Linked DNA regions of Homo sapiens: regions 1 and 2 are each linked to region 3. Evidence: promoter capture Hi-C in 16 types of primary human blood cells and fetal thymus (Javierre and others, 2016). All regions are on one chromosome and are shown on one strand. Each heading gives the region's core, a stretch centred on a gene start or on the middle of the fragment in contact. The rest is flanking DNA. Distances are from core to core; before and after follow the strand shown.

Region 1 (2,700 bases), core at 88-2,587, 220 kb after region 3:
TCTTCCACCTGCTGCTGGAGTGACCTTCCCAAATTGCAAATCTGATCACATTTACCAGCCTAAAAATCAAATGGTGACTCTCCTCCCCCAGCCACCAGCCAAACTTTAAGATAAACTCTAAACTCCACACCAGGGCCATGAAGTTCTTGGCTCCTAACCATGGATGTGCCCCTGCCCTACCCGCCCCGACCCCCGACCCAACCACAAGCCTCATCCCTCACCTCACCATCCTGGCTCCCATCTGTCCCTTGCTGGGTCCCGGCTCACTGACACCCTGTGTCCCCATGCTTGCCCGCTACCTGTCTATCTCCCCAGCTATACTGCAAGCTCCGTGATAGTGTCTTTCGTCTCTGAATCAATAGCACTGACATGGTGCCTGATGCAATGTGTTCAGTAATATTTACGAAGTGAGTCACCGCCCATCCCCAACACCAAATAGTCCATGGCGGCTGCAGTCCCCTGAGCCAGTGGGCCTGCACTTGACCGCCTCCACATGTAGGAGAGGAGACTCCACATGTAGTCTACTGGAAGACGTCTCTGCTCCATCCATTAGGGTCTGTTCTTCTAGAATTGCTGTGGGTGTTGGGAGCCCCGTGTCCTTCCTCGGCTAATCATTTTGTGACTGCAGCAGCCTGTATTTTTCTGCTCTGTGTATACAGAGAAGGGTTGGTAGGGGCGGTGGACCTGTGAGTTCCGAGCTCTCTTATAGAGAGGAGAGTTCCAGGCCTCTAGAAAATTTGGGTTGAAACTTGTGTCTCCACCATGGGCCAATGAGGGCGAGAAGGTGCTCCCTGGGAGGCTGCGGCTAGAGGCCTGGGCTGGCATGAAATGCACTGACCCAGGTGGATAGGGCACTCAGGGCCACCTGCTTTGTGAGGAGAAGAAATAGTGCCTGGGCCAAGCCTGATTGGAAACTCCAGGGAGAGCAGGACAGACCGAGGCAGCCTTTTGTTCCCTCCCTGTAATGCAATGCACATTCCCCACTTAAAGGCAATTTCTGCACTTCAAAAGGATTCCAGCTGGCGAAATTTAAGGTGGAGAATAAGCCCCCAGTCAAGAAGCTTCTCAGGGGCCTTTCAGTTTTCCTTGGCTTGAGAACGGGATGCATTTTTAAATGTTTGCCTCTTCATGTTTGTCAGAGCGCCAGGGGAGAAACGCTTCCTCTTACTTCCACACCTCTCTCGCTCAGCCATAGCTGGCACGGGAGCCAGCCACGTTTTCCTGTGTTACTTTGCCTTCTCATGAACCTGCCTGACTTCCTCTCTTTCTCTGCCTGCTTCCCCACCCACCCCCCAGCTCACACCCCACCCCTAGGGGGAGGAGAGAGTCCTGCTGCCCTGGGTTCACTAGGTTTAGCAGCTTTCCTTCAACAGATGCTGAAAGGGCCGACAGTTTGGCTGACACAGCTCATAGCTCACACTCCAGGAGATGCTCTCCCACATGTCATTCATTCATTCATTCATTCATGCATTCATGCATTCATGCATTCACCTGTTCACTCTCTCACCTAGTCACCCAGTCAGCCAGCATGGCATCTGAGGTGCTGGTGGGGCCCACGGGTGACTCAAAGAAAGACAACACATAGTCTTTCTCTCCTAACTTACAAAGTGCTTGAAGCTTTGAGAGACAGGAATGAGCAACTACAGCACAAGACACAGGGAAGTCAAAACCCAGTTTAGAGGGTAGGAACATTTTAAAAGCACAGAGAAAGAAAAGATCAGCCAGGGATGTAGGTGGAGCCCAGAGGGAGGCAGTCAGGGAAGGCTTCCTAGAGGAGGAAGCATTGTGACGGGAGCAGGGTCCAAAGACGCCAAGGATGGGGAAGTGGCCAATGCCAGAATATGGAGGTGGGAAGCTCTATGGTGGGCACAGAGGCACTGCTGCACCCCTCTTTCCAGGGCTTTGGAGTTTGCTGGGGGCGGGGGAGGGGGGGGTGTTCCCAGGCATGTCCAATGGCAGTCACTGCTTTGGTGGCATTGCTTCAGTCACCTTGGAAGCAATGCACCATCCCCACATAGCAGTCACCAACTCGTGCCCTTCTCCATCAGGCCCAGAAGAAATACCTTCATGCTCTTCTCTGTCCTAAACACTCAGGCTCCCCGCACCCTTTTCTTGAGGGACCCAGGTAGCACTTGCTCCTCCAGCCTCACCAGTCATGCCCTCTCCCTTAAGGGAAGCTCCAACTACCACCTTCCCTAGGAAGAACTATCCTTCCTGCCCACCCCCTTCCATTCTAACCAGGGAAAGCTTCCCTTCGGCCAGCCCACCCCTGCCTGTGCCAGCGCCCCCTGGTGTCTCCCTTAGAGCCCTTGCCAGTGGCCCACTGGCCAGGCCCATGGGCTCTGGAGTTGGGCAGACCTGGCTTTGACTCTGGCTCTGGCACCTTTCAGCTCTGTACTTGGCCAGATTACTCACTTCCATAGGACCTGCCTTGCATTTCCTACCTAACATCCTTTCACCCTTATCTGATCAATCACACCTTGACTTGCATTCAGGGCAACCATCCTCCTCTACTCTCAGTCCTTGTAGATTAAGGGGAGCTGTAGAGGGTCACTGCTAGGTTCAGGGATAGGCACAAGACCAAAGCGAGACCAATCCTGTGACTTTTAATGGATGGAAAACCCTATTTCCACTGGGGTTGACAAATTGGTCAAACACAAACCTAAGGCTGTTGGGGCCATCTTTGTCACAAGGGAAGAC
Region 2 (2,700 bases), core at 3-2,502, 200 kb after region 3:
ATAGCATATCAGTGAGCTGTGGGACATCTTCAAGTAGCCAAATATACATGCAATAGGAGTCCCTAAAATTCCCTTTTAGGGAATATTAGAAAAAATATTAGAAGACATAATGGCTGAAAAATGTCTTAATTTGATGAAAACTGTAAACCCACAGATCCCAGAAGCCCAACCAAAGAAATGCCAAGCACAAGACACATGAGAAAACTACACCAAACACATCACAATCAAATTGCTTAAAACCAGTGAAGATGAGAGCACAGGTTACCATTAGCAAATGTGTCACTGGCAGCCCGCGGCATATAGTAGCAAAATAATCTTGATTATCAAGTGTGATTACCTAGAACAAAGTACCCATTGAAGATAAGAGTTTGGCGGAATTGCACGATAGATTATTATGTCAGAATGATGAATATAAAGATGTTGGAATAAGATGACTTCTTCTGCCAGAAGTGGGAAAAGTAAAGAAAAATGGTTAGAAGCTTGAGGTTTAAATTCTTGGCACAGCCATGCATAGTGGCTCACTCTATAATCCCAGCACTTTGGGAAGCCAAGGCAGATGGATGGCTTCAGCCCAGGAGTTCGAGACCAGCCCAGGCAACATGGTAAGACCCTGTCTCTACAAAAAATAAAAAATAAATAAAAAAAATTCCAAGCATAGTGGCATGTGCCTGTAGTCCCAGCTACTCAGGAGGCTGAGGTGGGAAGATTGCTTGATTCCAGGAGGTCAAGGCTGCAGTGAACCGTAATCATGCCACTGCACTCCAGCTTGGGCAACAGAGTGAGACCCTGTCTCTAAAAATAAAATAAAATAGTAATAAATTCTTGGCTCAAGGCTCAATCAGAAGAGCAAGGAACAGTTAAGACTATCCTGAAAGAATCTCCCACGGTTTGTAGTTTCAGGGCCAACAAAACTGAAATCAGAAGTGAAGTCTGACCCAGCAGGTTGTAGAATTACAACCTAAGTTAAGTTCACAGCCTCATCAGGTCTCTTATGGGAGATGGTGTTGACTGGGAAAGATGGAACCCTGTGAATGGGGATGCTGAATTCATATAACTGAGTCTTAGACCCTGCTGAGCCTCCCTTTCCAGCAGAAGCTGCCCCTTTTCCCCAGGTCCTGTCTTGCAAGAGAATCCTGATTCTCCCTGAGGTCGACACTTACCACCCCTGGCTGCTCCTGACCTATTCTAGAATCAGATTTCAGCATGGCCAAGGGAGACAAGCACAAAGTCTGATTCTGAAACAGTAGACTTTCACACCAAAGTAGGTGCCATTTGTTTTTTAATATTTATTGGCAGAAATCTGAGAAATGTATAGTAAGGTGCTGATCACGGAGGAAAGAAGATCATTTTCAATTGGGCCATATTGATCAATATGGATTCTGGATCCAAAGTACTGGCTGGATCATCTGGGTATGGTTCTGTTCACTCAGTGGGTTATCTGAAATGAAACCTGAACTGAATGGCATCCTATACTAAATAAAGCTAAGGTGACAGAAGTTCCTTGATATAAAGCAAGGAATCTTAATACCTGGAGAGGCATAATAATGTTGGGGTGGGCTTACACATGTGTTCCCCACATACCCTCCTTCACTCTGTCCCAGGAGAACATACTTTCTTCACAAGCATTTAGACATGCTTTGGTGAGGGGGACACCGGCATTCTGTTTTCCTTGGTTGTCTTCAGAATTTATCTTTGGTTTTTAGCAGTTTGATCATGACACATCTAGGTGGATTTTTTTAAAAATTCTGATTAAGGTTCTCTGAGTATCTTGGACTTGTGGTATGTTGCCTTTCTTTAACAAGTTCTTGGTCATTATCTCTTCAAATAGTTCTACTCTGCTCTCTTTTCTTAATGAGATCCCAACTATACATATGTTAGACCATTTTATGTTGTCTCACAATGCTTGGGTGCTCTGTTCTGTCCCCCAGCCTTCTTTTCTCTCTTTATATTTCTTTAGATCATTTCTGTTGCTCTATCTTCAAGTTCACTGATTTTTCCAGTTTATATGTTACGTCTAATTTGCTGAGAAGCTTAAGTTCCTGTTTCAGTAACCTGACTAGTTTTCCAAGTTTGTCGGAAGTTCTGCTTTTTTGGCCACATCCTTGAACCCAGCCTAGGTGGCATTGGCCCTGCTTCCCATGGGCAGGTTTCTTCATGCCAGCCTCTCTGCCTGTGCTCCCAGTTACTGCCTACCTACTGCCCCCTCTGCCCTGGGGCAGATTTGCTGTGTGGCATCAGACAGTTGCCTGAAAGTTGCTGGTATTGTGGTTGGAGAGATGAAACCATGTTCCCAAATCCCACATCCTTGCATCAAGTAAGAAAAGTGCCACTGGAACCTAGAATGATGTGGGAACCCAGAAGAAGAAGATGTCCTAGTCTGGGAGGAGAGACAGGGAATGGAGCTTGGACAATCACTGTCATAGCTGGAGTGTGATCTGATGAAGATCTGAACTAGAGAAATACATAGGCCACGGTAATACTAATTAATCAGGAATGGTTGAGTTTTGCTCCCGCTGACCTATCAATTCTTACTCCAATGGCTCCTTTAACCGATAGTTGCAGTGTTCAGTGGGGTATTATCCAGGCTCCAACGTGTTTGCTCAGAGCCATCCTCAGGCTAAGGGGAGTCTTCCCTGATCTCCCCTCCTCATCCCAGTGATGGGGTTCCTTCCACCTCACCTGCTAGGGGTTTCTTGAGGC
Region 3 (2,700 bases), core at 50-2,549:
CGGCCCCGGGATCGTTCCCCGTGGCAGGCCCTCGCCCCGCGGGTGAACCCCCTCCTTCTCCCCGCCGTCCCCACACCCCCACGGCTTTGCTGAACGCCCCGGAAAGGCAGCGTCGCAGTACCTCTCCCACCGCGGGGACTCCACGCCGCACATGGCTCCATCCCGGGTGGGAGGCTGAGGGAGTAAGGGGGGAGAGCGCGGGTGAAAAAGACGCCGGGCTCCTCCCGGGAAGAGGGCGACAGCACCACGCCTTGCGCGTAGCCCGGCGATCGGGCCCCCTGCGTGGTGAGGGAGAACCCCAGAGCCGCTCGCACCTACCTCCCTCCGGTCGGCGGCTGCCCCCACCCGGGAGAACCGAAGCCTCTACCGTGGCGTCGCCAACCTAGCCTTCTCGATCGAGGAGGGCGGGAGGAGTGGGTGGGAAAAGCAACTCGCCCCCCGCAAAATTCCCAGCGCGCCCCCATCTCTCCATCCATTTATCTATCCACCCATCCACCCATCCATCCATCCATCCATCCATCCATCCATCCATCCATCACCAGGTCGTCCCCTCCTCCTCTTCCTCTCCCCTTCCTTCCTCGCTGCCTCGCCGCCTCCCCGCCGCCCTTACCTGTAGCCATCTGATTGTAATGGACTACCGAGTCGCTGCTGCCGGAGAAGAGGTTGAGCGCGCTGGGGATCTCCTCGGGGTACAGATTGTCAGGCAGTTGGTTTAGCAAACTGCTCATGGTCACCGGCAGCTTCTCGGCGAGTTTGCCGGTCATAGCACTCCCGAGCTGCCGCCGCCGCCGCCACCGCCGCCACCGCCGCCGCTCGCTCCTAACGCAGCTTCCAGGCAAGCGGCATCCGAGAGGCGATCCGTGGTGCAGGGGAAAAGCATGCGAGAGGGAAAGTTCGGGGGGAGGGGGGAGGGAAGAAGGGAAGGGATGGGCCAGGAGAGGGGATCTTCTCTTTTTTGGGGGGCGGGAGAGGGCCCCAGGGGGTAATCCTCTTGGGTGCCTCAGCTGGTGCGGTATGAGGCTGGGTCGTGGGGGGGGTGGGGCGTGTGCGGGGGGTGGGGTGGGGGCTGGGCTGGGGGGGGATCTCGGCTCAAGGGGGTCGGACGCGGCCTCAGTATTGATCTCACAAACAGACACGCGCCCGCCGCCCCCCCGCCCCCCGATCTGCCACCGCCACCGCCACCGCCACCGCCGCCGCCGCCGCCGCCGCCGCCGCCGCCTCTGCCGCCGCTGCCGCCGCTGCTACCACCACCACCAGCCCCGCCGCTTCCTAGCAAGCTCACTGCTGCCCAAAAGCTCCCAGCCAGGGAACTCCACCAGCCTATTTATCTGAGCCCCGGGAAAGCTCCGTGACGTAGCTGCCCATATATGGACAGACAAAGCCCAGCCGAAGGGGCGCGACGTCACAATGGAAGCTCCTCACAATGGAACATTAGAAAGCAGGAAGCGGGCCGCAGCCAACGTGCGGCGCCCGCACCGCTCGCGGCTCTTGAAAAAAAGAGAAGGGGAGAAGAAACAAGAAGAATGCGAGAAGAGAGAGGAAAGAAGGATACAGCTGCATGCAAAGCGCAAAGCGCGTAGCGTGGAGTCGAAACACCAGTAACTCATTGTGTGTGTTTATTTGAGGTTTGCGTTAGGAGAGCGCATTGGGGAGAGGTGGGCGGTGGGGTGGGGTTGTTTGCAAGTGGTCTCCAACACCCCAGCAGTTAGAAAGAGAGTTGAAAACATCTGGCGAAATCCCTTTGCAGCCCGGGAACTGCTGGGGAACCCGGAAGGCGTGCGTTGCGCCCCTGCTACCTCAGCGGCTCCAGCGTTCGGGATCCTATCCGAGATTAAGAGAAAGGGAGTGCTTCCCTTTGTGGGGGGAAGGAGGGGTGCGCGCAGGGTTGGGGGGGTGTTTCAACTTGTCAGAATTCCTTGGTCCAATATCCCAAGAACTTTTGTGCCAACTTCACTCTGATTCGCCGCCCCTGCCCCTCCCTGGGCCCCTGACCCGGCGCTGACTCTAGGCTGAGCGCAGTGGCGAGGAGATTCGGAGCACCCCAGCAGTTGCGCCAAAGACAAGAGCCCCATCCATATGGGGTCGAGGATGTGCGGTTTTCGTGGTGAAGAGGAAAGAATGAAGTTGAAGGGATAGATAAACACGTGCACTGAATCCCCAGTAAATTCCCTAACGGTTCCAAGCAGCCTCTGTGGCCACAGGATGGCAGGAGGGCCCAGCAGGCCCGGGCGCAGTCGCTGTCTACTGCTGCCTGCGAAGGGCCCGCCAGAGTTCCAGAAGGAGGACGCCGAACCCACAGTCTCTGAGCCACTGGGGGCCTCCCCTAGTCTCTGCCCTCCCCCTCGCCTTCCACAGGGCTGTCCCCATTGCTGCCTGCCGGCGCTCCGCAGTCAAGGGCGGCCTGTGTGCCGACCCGGAGCGCTTTCACCTCCCGGAGCGGCAGCAGATCCCGGGGGCGGCTGCTGTGCTCCCTGGGGCCTGCTCCCGAGGCGCGCGCAGCCGGCCCGCGGGCGAGGGGGAGGAGAGGGCGGGAGCATGGGGGTGCGACCCCAAATCACATCGGCTTGGCGGGGGAGGATTCCCTCCTCGGTGGCCGCGTGGGCGCGGTGAATCCCTCGTCCCCTCCTGGGGAGTCGGGGTTGGGGGAACGTGCATTTCTCGGGGGGAGTGGGAGTGTTGACAAGGAAGAAGAGAGGATCC

The links. The method cuts DNA at HindIII sites, captures the fragments that hold promoters and counts their contacts. A CHiCAGO score of 5 or more calls a contact.
Region 1: a fragment that was not itself captured here is called in contact with the fragment with the promoter of EGR3 in region 3 in 4 of 17 cell types (endothelial precursors, fetal thymus, total CD8 T cells and 1 more); the score reaches 6.7 in endothelial precursors.
Region 2: a fragment that was not itself captured here is called in contact with the fragment with the promoter of EGR3 in region 3 in 1 of 17 cell types (M1 macrophages); the score reaches 5.9 in M1 macrophages.

What each region holds. Positions count from the first base shown.
Region 1 is chr8:22,915,203-22,917,902 of GRCh38, forward strand. The region is part of intron 3 of PEBP4 (phosphatidylethanolamine binding protein 4); the gene reads right to left. Among named protein-coding and RNA genes, the nearest start is that of PEBP4, 11 kb to the right of the region's middle. The HindIII fragment of the contact is 556 bases long and covers 1,060-1,615 here.
Region 2 is chr8:22,893,789-22,896,488 of GRCh38, forward strand. The region is part of intron 3 of PEBP4 (phosphatidylethanolamine binding protein 4); the gene reads right to left. LOC124901907 (a long non-coding RNA gene) reads right to left here. Exons shown (of 2, transcript XR_007060854.1): 2 at 1,263-2,700. Among named protein-coding and RNA genes, the nearest start is that of PEBP4-AS1, 17 kb to the left of the region's middle. The HindIII fragment of the contact is 1,551 bases long and covers 478-2,028 here.
Region 3 is chr8:22,692,181-22,694,880 of GRCh38, forward strand. It overlaps EGR3 (early growth response 3), which reads right to left and starts at 1,300. Exons shown (of 2, transcript NM_004430.3): 1 at 611-1,300. The coding sequence starts at 764. LOC105379321 (a long non-coding RNA gene) reads left to right here and starts at 2,677. Exons shown (of 3, transcript XR_001745832.2): 1 at 2,677-2,700. RefSeq lists silencers at 330-399, 1,262-1,381, 1,326-1,489, 2,372-2,591 and enhancers at 1,534-2,179, 2,012-2,121, 2,162-2,261. The HindIII fragment of the contact is 8,376 bases long and covers 1-2,700 here.